Regions from separate parts of the Homo sapiens genome. Here region 2 is linked to region 1. The links are contacts of gene promoters, found by promoter capture Hi-C in blood cells and fetal thymus (Javierre and others, 2016). All regions are on one chromosome and are shown on one strand. Each heading gives the region's core, a stretch centred on a gene start or on the middle of the fragment in contact. The rest is flanking DNA. Distances are from core to core; before and after follow the strand shown. Region 1 holds the start of ADPGK-AS1 (ADPGK antisense RNA 1). Region 2 overlaps NEO1 (neogenin 1).

What was found. Contacts are between HindIII fragments. The CHiCAGO score rates a contact against its expected background, and 5 or more counts as called.
Region 2: a fragment that was not itself captured here is called in contact with the fragment with the promoter of ADPGK-AS1 in region 1 in 12 of 17 cell types (naive CD4 T cells, naive CD8 T cells, total CD8 T cells and 9 more); the score reaches 16.8 in naive CD4 T cells.

Annotation. Positions count from the first base shown.
Region 1 is chr15:72,780,758-72,784,420 of GRCh38, forward strand. It overlaps ADPGK-AS1 (ADPGK antisense RNA 1), which reads left to right and starts at 2,078. Exons shown (of 3, transcript NR_040107.1): 1 at 2,078-3,663. It overlaps ADPGK (ADP dependent glucokinase), which reads right to left and starts at 3,001. Exons shown (of 7, transcript NM_001365225.1): 1 at 2,702-3,001. The coding sequence starts at 2,934. RefSeq lists enhancers at 2,377-2,446, 3,207-3,266, 3,317-3,526 and a silencer at 2,697-3,156. The HindIII fragment of the contact is 5,666 bases long and covers 1-3,663 here.
Region 2 is chr15:73,071,486-73,075,148 of GRCh38, forward strand. The region is part of intron 1 of NEO1 (neogenin 1); the gene reads left to right. Among named protein-coding and RNA genes, the nearest start is that of NEO1, 21 kb to the left of the region's middle. The HindIII fragment of the contact is 1,651 bases long and covers 954-2,604 here.

The sequences.
Region 1 (3,663 bases), core at 828-3,327:
GACAGAGTGAGATGCTGTCTCAAACAGAAAACAAAAACTAAACAAGATATCCAATATTAAAAACCTGTCGTTTTTGACTGCCTTTCTTTACTCCACCACATCCAAACTATTATTCAGGTTATCTCTCAAATCTCACCTCTTCTACATCATTGCCGAGTTTGGTTCGGGCTCCTTTCTCCCTTTACACAAACCCTACAATGGCCTCTTAAACCAGTGTCAGGATGTCAAGATATTCCTCCTTATGAATCACATTAAATGGCATTTTGAGTGTGTCTGTGTGACAGAGAGTGTGAATACGAGTGTGTCTCTAGAGAAGTCAAACTACAACCTCAAAATGAGATTCTGATACAAGTACTACACCTGCTCCCCCTCATCCCTCCTATATCCCCCTATCTTTGGGCTAAAAATCCTCTTTGGGTAATAAATGATGAGAAGCAGTGAAACAGTTTAGAACCACTGCTCAAAATCCACCCTTCACATTCCCACCAATTCTCAACAAAGAACTTGTCATCAGTTAACTACTTACAAACCTTTATGGCTTCCCCATAAAAGGCCCTTCACAATCTGGTCCAACCCTTCGTTCTCAGCATCATCTCTTTACAACCCTCTACCATAGGATTCTCGCTCCAAAACAAGGCCGACCTGTTCCCAAACAAACCATGTACTTTTTCACATTTGGTTCTCTTGCCTAGGTGGACCTGTTCCCACTTTGGCTTGAAGAAATCTCATTTATTTAGTGTCTGTCCTATGAAAGTCACTGTAGTAAAATATATTTTCCAAGATGGTGGCAATAAGATGCCCCATTCCAAATGTTCTTTTCACAATGTGACACTGATGCTCCTCCCATCAAGGTTTGTTCTATGTCCCCTCCCTTAAAACCAGGTGGACCTGTGACTCTGGTAGAAGAGTTCCTATGTGCTTCTAAGGTAAGGTCGTAAAAGGCATTAAGGCTTCTGCCTGGTCCTCGTGGGTTGTTCCTCTTCTAACCATAATTGTTATGGATTGAATTGTCCACCCCCCACCAATTCATATGCTGAAACCCTAATTCCCAATGTGACTATATTTGGACGTAGGGCCTTTAAGGAAGTAGTTAAGGTTAAATAAGGTCATACGGGTGAGCCCTATTCCAAAAGGACCTAGTGTCCACATAAGAAGAATAAGAGGCACCAGGAGTGTACATGCGCAGACTAACTGAAAAGCCAGCTGGCTGCAAGCTAGGAAGAGAGGCCACATCGGAAGCCAATCCTGCCAACACCTTGATCTTGGACTATCAGCCTCCAGATCCACGAGAAAACAGATTTGTTGTTTAATCCACCTAATTTGTGGTATTCTGTTCTAGCAGCCCAAATGACTGATACAATAATATGTTTCCAACAAGTGAGACAGGGGCCTTGCTTCACCCATCTCTGTATCTTAAGAACCTAGCACAGACCTGACACTAACCATGTAGTTGGTGAATATCTGCTGAATGAACGCGCATAAAGCAAGGAAGGACAATTTAATCCCAGCACTTTGGGAGGCCAAGATGGGAGGCTGGCTTGAGCTCAGGAGTTCGAGACCAGCCTGGGCAATATAGCAAGACCTCGACTCTACTAAAAAAAATAAAATAAATAAAAAATTGGCTGGGCGTGGTGGTGCTTGCCTGTCGTCCCAGCTACTCCAGAGGCTGAGGCAGAAGGATCTCTTGAGCTCGGGAGTTCGAGGCTGCAGTGAGCAGTGATTGCACCACTGCACTCCAGCCTAGGCGACAGAGAGAGAGACCCTGTGTCCAAAAAAAAAAAAAAAAAAAAACCCCAAAATTATAGCTAATATCGAATGCTTTTTAAAGCAGGCACTATGCTAGAGAGATTACATGAATGATGTCATTTAATCTTCAGGCCAAGTTTGCTCTACTTTACCCCTCCCGGCCCCAACACTCCACAGAAAGTAGTGAGCTACATGGTAGAGGGCCTGCTTTTATGTGGTGGTTATACATAACTCTGAGATTACGGCAAGAAAGTCAAATCGAACTGAGACAGGGACTAAAGTTAGTGTTTACAGTATCAATACTATAAAGAAAATAATTACATTCCCAAGGAAAAGTACAAAGAAAGGAGGTAGTGTCATTTGGAAGAACCTTAAATATGCAGTGTCACTGAAGTCAGGGGAAGAAAAGAATTTCACGGAGAAGGGCGTGTTCAATGCGTGGAAGGCTGCAGAGTAGATAATGAAGATTCAAAAAGGCAAATCTGAGAGGAGTTGCAGTACAGTCGTGTGGTTTCTAGACTACACGGCGTTTCGAAAGTGGGTAAAGGCAGACATCACGCGTCTTCAAGAAGTTCAGAAGAAAGAGGAAGAGTGTTGTCATAGTGGGTAAGGTCAAGTATCTTTGATTGCAAAACAACAGTCGCCAGAAGAGAAGGGGCTAAAAGTTGGAACGAGGAAGAAGGCTCGGAGAAAGGTGTCAGACAAAGCGGGATTAGCAAGAAGCTGTTAGGGCTGGTCCTACCGGGATGAGAGAAAGGCGCAGAGGCCAGCCGAGTGGAAAGAGCAGCGGTGACGAACCGGGTTCCACTCAGACGTCCGACACTTCTCGCCAAGGGGCCAGCGCGGACAGCAGCGCCTCCCGGGGACCTCTGAGAAGCCCTGTTTCTGCGCGGCTCCGCCCGACCTCCAAGGCCGACCTCGGAGGCTCAGAGACCCAGGCCCCGTTGGCACTCACCCCACTGCCACGCGGCGCCAGCGCCGGACTGGCCGCACGATAAGCGCGTCCCAGGCTGCCGCCAACCGGCCCTCGGGGGAGACGGGTCCCGGGGGCGCAGGCGCGGGCCCCAGACACAGCGAGCTCCAGAGAGAGCGCAGCGCCGAGCCTGGCAGCTCTGGCTCCAGCAGGAAGACGCAGCCCACGGCCAGCGCCAGGAAGCCCGCGTACGCGGAGCCGCGCCACAGCGCCATGGGGACCCAGGCGCCGCACCTGCGCGAACCAACTCCTTTCCTAGCCCGCGCCTCTTCCGGGCTCGGCGCGCGCCGATGTCGACACAAGCGCTACGTCACAAGGGTGCGCCACGGGGCCCCCCAAGGGGCGGGGCGACGGGCGGCGCCAGGACGGAGCGAGGGGGGACCCCACGCCTCAGTCCCAGGCCTGGCACTGCGGTGTTGCCGCCCCGGAGGAGGTGGGACAACGGCGGTTGTGCCAGTCCGGGCGCTGCACCCCCTTCCCGGAACTCTAATCGTATCCCCAAATAGAGGGATGGGAACACATTTGCTTTCGCAGTAAAACGAAACGGACAGATTGTGAAGAAGCGGACAAACCTCGCGTTAATATTCGAACCAGTGGGTGTCCCCATTGGCACGGATCACACCCCCATCTTTTAATCCCTCCCTCCGCCCGTGTCCCCTCATTTGCTAGACTTGTCCTCTTCCAGGCCTAGTGCTCGGCGCTTCTGAGAGGAATAGGCTCACAGAATAGCGGCGCTGCCGAGACCCCTGGGGTACGCGAGGCAGGGGGATTCCGCCCCTTTGGAAGGTGGCCGAGACCCTCAGCCACTAAAGGACTTCGTCGAGACAGGAGAGCCCGCAGAGATCGTTCTCTTCTGGATAACCAGATTATTCCACAATCAAACTTTAACCCTTTTGGGGGCGCTGTTCCCTTTAACAAACTCTGGAAAATGTACACAATCTTGT
Region 2 (3,663 bases), core at 529-3,028, 290 kb after region 1:
TGGGGTAGTTGCTATTTATTCACTTAGATGTTTTTTGTTTGTTTGTTTGTTTGTTTTTTTGAGACAGAGTCTCACTCCATCACCCAGGCTGGAGTGCAGTGCTGCCATCACAGCTTACTGCAGCCTTGACCTTGTGGGCTGAGTTGATTGTCCCATCTCAGCCTCTCAATGGCTGGGACTACCATGCTTGGCTAATTTTTTGTATTTATTTGTAGAGACAGGGTTTTGCCATGTTGCCCAGGCTGGGCTCAAACTTCTAGGCTCAAATGATCGGCCCACCGTGGCTTCCCAGATTGCTGGGATTACAGGTGTAAGCCACCACACCTGGCCCACTTTTGTTTTAAGAAATGTCTTTATAACTGAATATTGAAAACAATTGCCGTTCTCTGAAAGTCTTTTAGTTGTTTTTCCATAGAAATGATCATACTATATCTGATGGCTTTTAATTTAATTTTGTTTGTTTGTTTGTTTGTTTGTTTTTTGAGATGGAGTTTCACTCTTGTCACCCAGGCTGAAGTGCAATGGGCCGATCTTGGCCCACTGCAACCTCCGCCTCCCAGGTTCAAGCGATTCTCCTGCCTCAGCCTCCTGAGTAGTTGGGATTACAGGCATGTGCCACTACACTCAGCTAATTTTTGTATTTTTAGTAGAGACAGGGTTTCACCATTTTGAACAGGCTGGTCTTGAACTCCTGACCTCAGGTGATCTGCCTGCCTCGGCTTCCCAAAGTGCTGGGATTACAGGTGTGAGCCACCGTGCCCAGCCAGCTTTTAATTTTTTTTTTTTAACTGTGAAATGTCATTAGAATTTGGATTGTATTTCATTAATGTAATATCTGGAAGATTCAAAGTTATAATTTTTAAAAGTTTTAATTTTGCTTTATTAACTGACTCAACTGTTGGACGGAAGCAGGAACATAAATGAAAAGGTCATCTGAAAGTCTCATGTATACAAGCTTTTTCTAACTCTCCAAAACAAGGTGAATTTCAGACAAATTCAGTAAACCTTTATTGAGTACATGTTGCATGCTCTATGTTGGGACCATGAGGATGATTAAAACTTACATCCTGTCCTGGTAAAGTTCACACTTGTGGGAATGAGATAGGGTAGGAATACATGTAAACAAGCGATTTGTGCTTTGCCTAAATTTAATGAATTTAAAAGGTTATTAAATAAAGTGACCATCATAATACATGAAGAAAAAGTGTGTGTGTGCTTGCGTGCATGGAGGTGGGGTTGTGGTGGTGATGGTCATGTTTCATACTTAGGCCCGTTGTAGTAGCCTAGGTAGTTTACAGAGGTAAATTGGATTAGCATGATGGCAGTGTAGAGAAGTACATGGAATAGAAAGATATTTAGATGATAAAGTAGAATTTGGTGATGGATTGGATATGGTGGTGAGGGAGAGGGACATGTCAAAGATGATTCCTAAGGTTCTTTAGGATTTGCATAGCAGGATGATGGGTGCTGATGTCTTTTACGGAGAAAGAACTAAGTTTGGGGGACAAGAAGAACATGCGTTTAATTTTGGACATTATGAATTTGATACACCTTTGTGATATCCAGGGGCAGCATTACAGTCTGGAGTGTGATGGAAGACATGGGCTGTAGATTTGTGAGTCATATGCTTAGAATGTGGTTGAATTGAGAAAGATGGGTTATTATAAGACAGAGAAGTGAGCGGAGAAGTAGGAGGAAAACTAGGAGAAGGTTGTATCACAGGAACCAAGGAGGAGAGTATCTGATTCTGCTGGCAGAATTAAGTATGCTGATGATTGGAGAGTCTTTTGCATTTACCTGTCAGTCACTGTTGACCTTACTGACAGCTGGAGATGGAATTTGGAAGCAGGTTGAGGGACAAGTGGGAAGGGAGGAAATGAAGACTGAAAAGTTCCAGAAATTTAGCCATGATGGGGATGACTGAATGTAGTGGTTGAGGTCTCATGAGTTGGGTGTGTGTGTGTGTCTGTTTAATGGATGAGATTCTGGAGCGTATTTAAAAATGGAAGGCTCTATTTGAGAGGGATAGTTTAAGTATGCAAGGAAAATGGGATAACTGACAGTGTAAGTTTCCTGGGAAGGTTGGGAGAACACGGGGTTTTGAGCACAAGTAGAAAGATTTGCATTCGACCCATTGTAGGAGAGAGAACTCTCCTTTAACGAGAGGGAAGGAACATAAGAACAGGTGAATATTATTGTTAATGAGGCAGTGAGGCCTTTTGCTGTACGTGATAAGCAGGAAATGGTTTTCAGGAGTGTTGAGGAATTGGTTGACCAGAGAGGTAGGATTACTATTACCAGAACTAATATGAGAATGTACCATACTAGGAGATTTAACAGGATTGTAAATTATATGGGAATAGTATTGTTTTCAGTGCCTTTTCCCCCTCATCTGCCAGGCCTCAGTGAGCCCATTGGAGATTGTAGATTCCCAGTAAGTATTTACCCTACTCTAGAATCTTAAATGAAAAATGCATAAACAGTAGCTACTCTTGTCTGACTTGAATTTTGTGGACTAATGATAGAATTAATAAGTGAAGGAGGTCTCTTACTATAACAGTGTTTAATTCACCATTTCAACAAATCTCTCCCTGCAGCCTACTAAGCTTTTTCTTTAATTAAGTACCTGATTTACACAGCAGATTTTACTCATTTGAGGACTCAAGTCATGTCTAAACAGATAAAGGTATCAGCTCAGGCATAGTTCAGGTACCTTGTAAATGCAATCAGAGTTGTTCTGCAGGGTAATTCAGTTTTAGACATCCATTTCTAAAAACGGGTTCTGTCTGAAAATGGAGGCCTTAATAACCAATTTCTCGTTATTCAGAGGCCAGTTATCTAGTTTATTTATCAAGATTAGGCAGTCACCTTGTTTTTCACTCCTTTCTAATCTCTCTGACTGTTTTGTTGTTTTAAACTCATGAGTAAGATAAGGAGAAGAAAAACAGAGAATGTACATAAATTAATGGCTAAAATGAAGTGTTCCTTTGCATGTTTCTTTTTCTTATGCTTTATTTCTGTGACTCATACGGAGCTGTTAGAAGTGACTTCATATAATATTATACAGTGTAATAAAATGGGTTTTCGATGTGTGAGGATACCCTCATGTTATTTAGATTATGGACACAATTAACAATTCCAGACAGAATTATTTTCTCATGTTTGAAGTAGTATAGGCACATGGCCCTTTATGGGAGGGGGGAAGCTCTTCTCTGTGTGCCCACTTTTCACATCCCTCTCCAGCATGACTCTCCCCTTTCTGTCAGTCTTACCCCAGGAGTCCCTGGCCTCCTTCCTCTCCTTGACACTGTTTGCTTTGCAAGCATATGAAATACTGGCACCCTATGACCAGGGTAGACTACAACCAGGGTTGGGGTGCAGGAGCCAGATGGAGAAATTCAAATTATGATCATGAGAACATGTTCCTCTAGGTAGTGGCCATACTTTTATCTCTATATCCTTAGGACGTAACACAGTGCCTGGCATATAATGTGTCTCCAGAAATATTTTGTTTTTGAATTAAAGACTATTTCAAAATTACAGAGTCATAGGAGGAATCATTTAATTTATTTTTCTGCTTTTATAGGTGAAAAAAGTGAGGCTTAGATTCATAGCACCTATTTAAGTTCCTCTGACATGACCAGTTATGCTTTAGACCATACA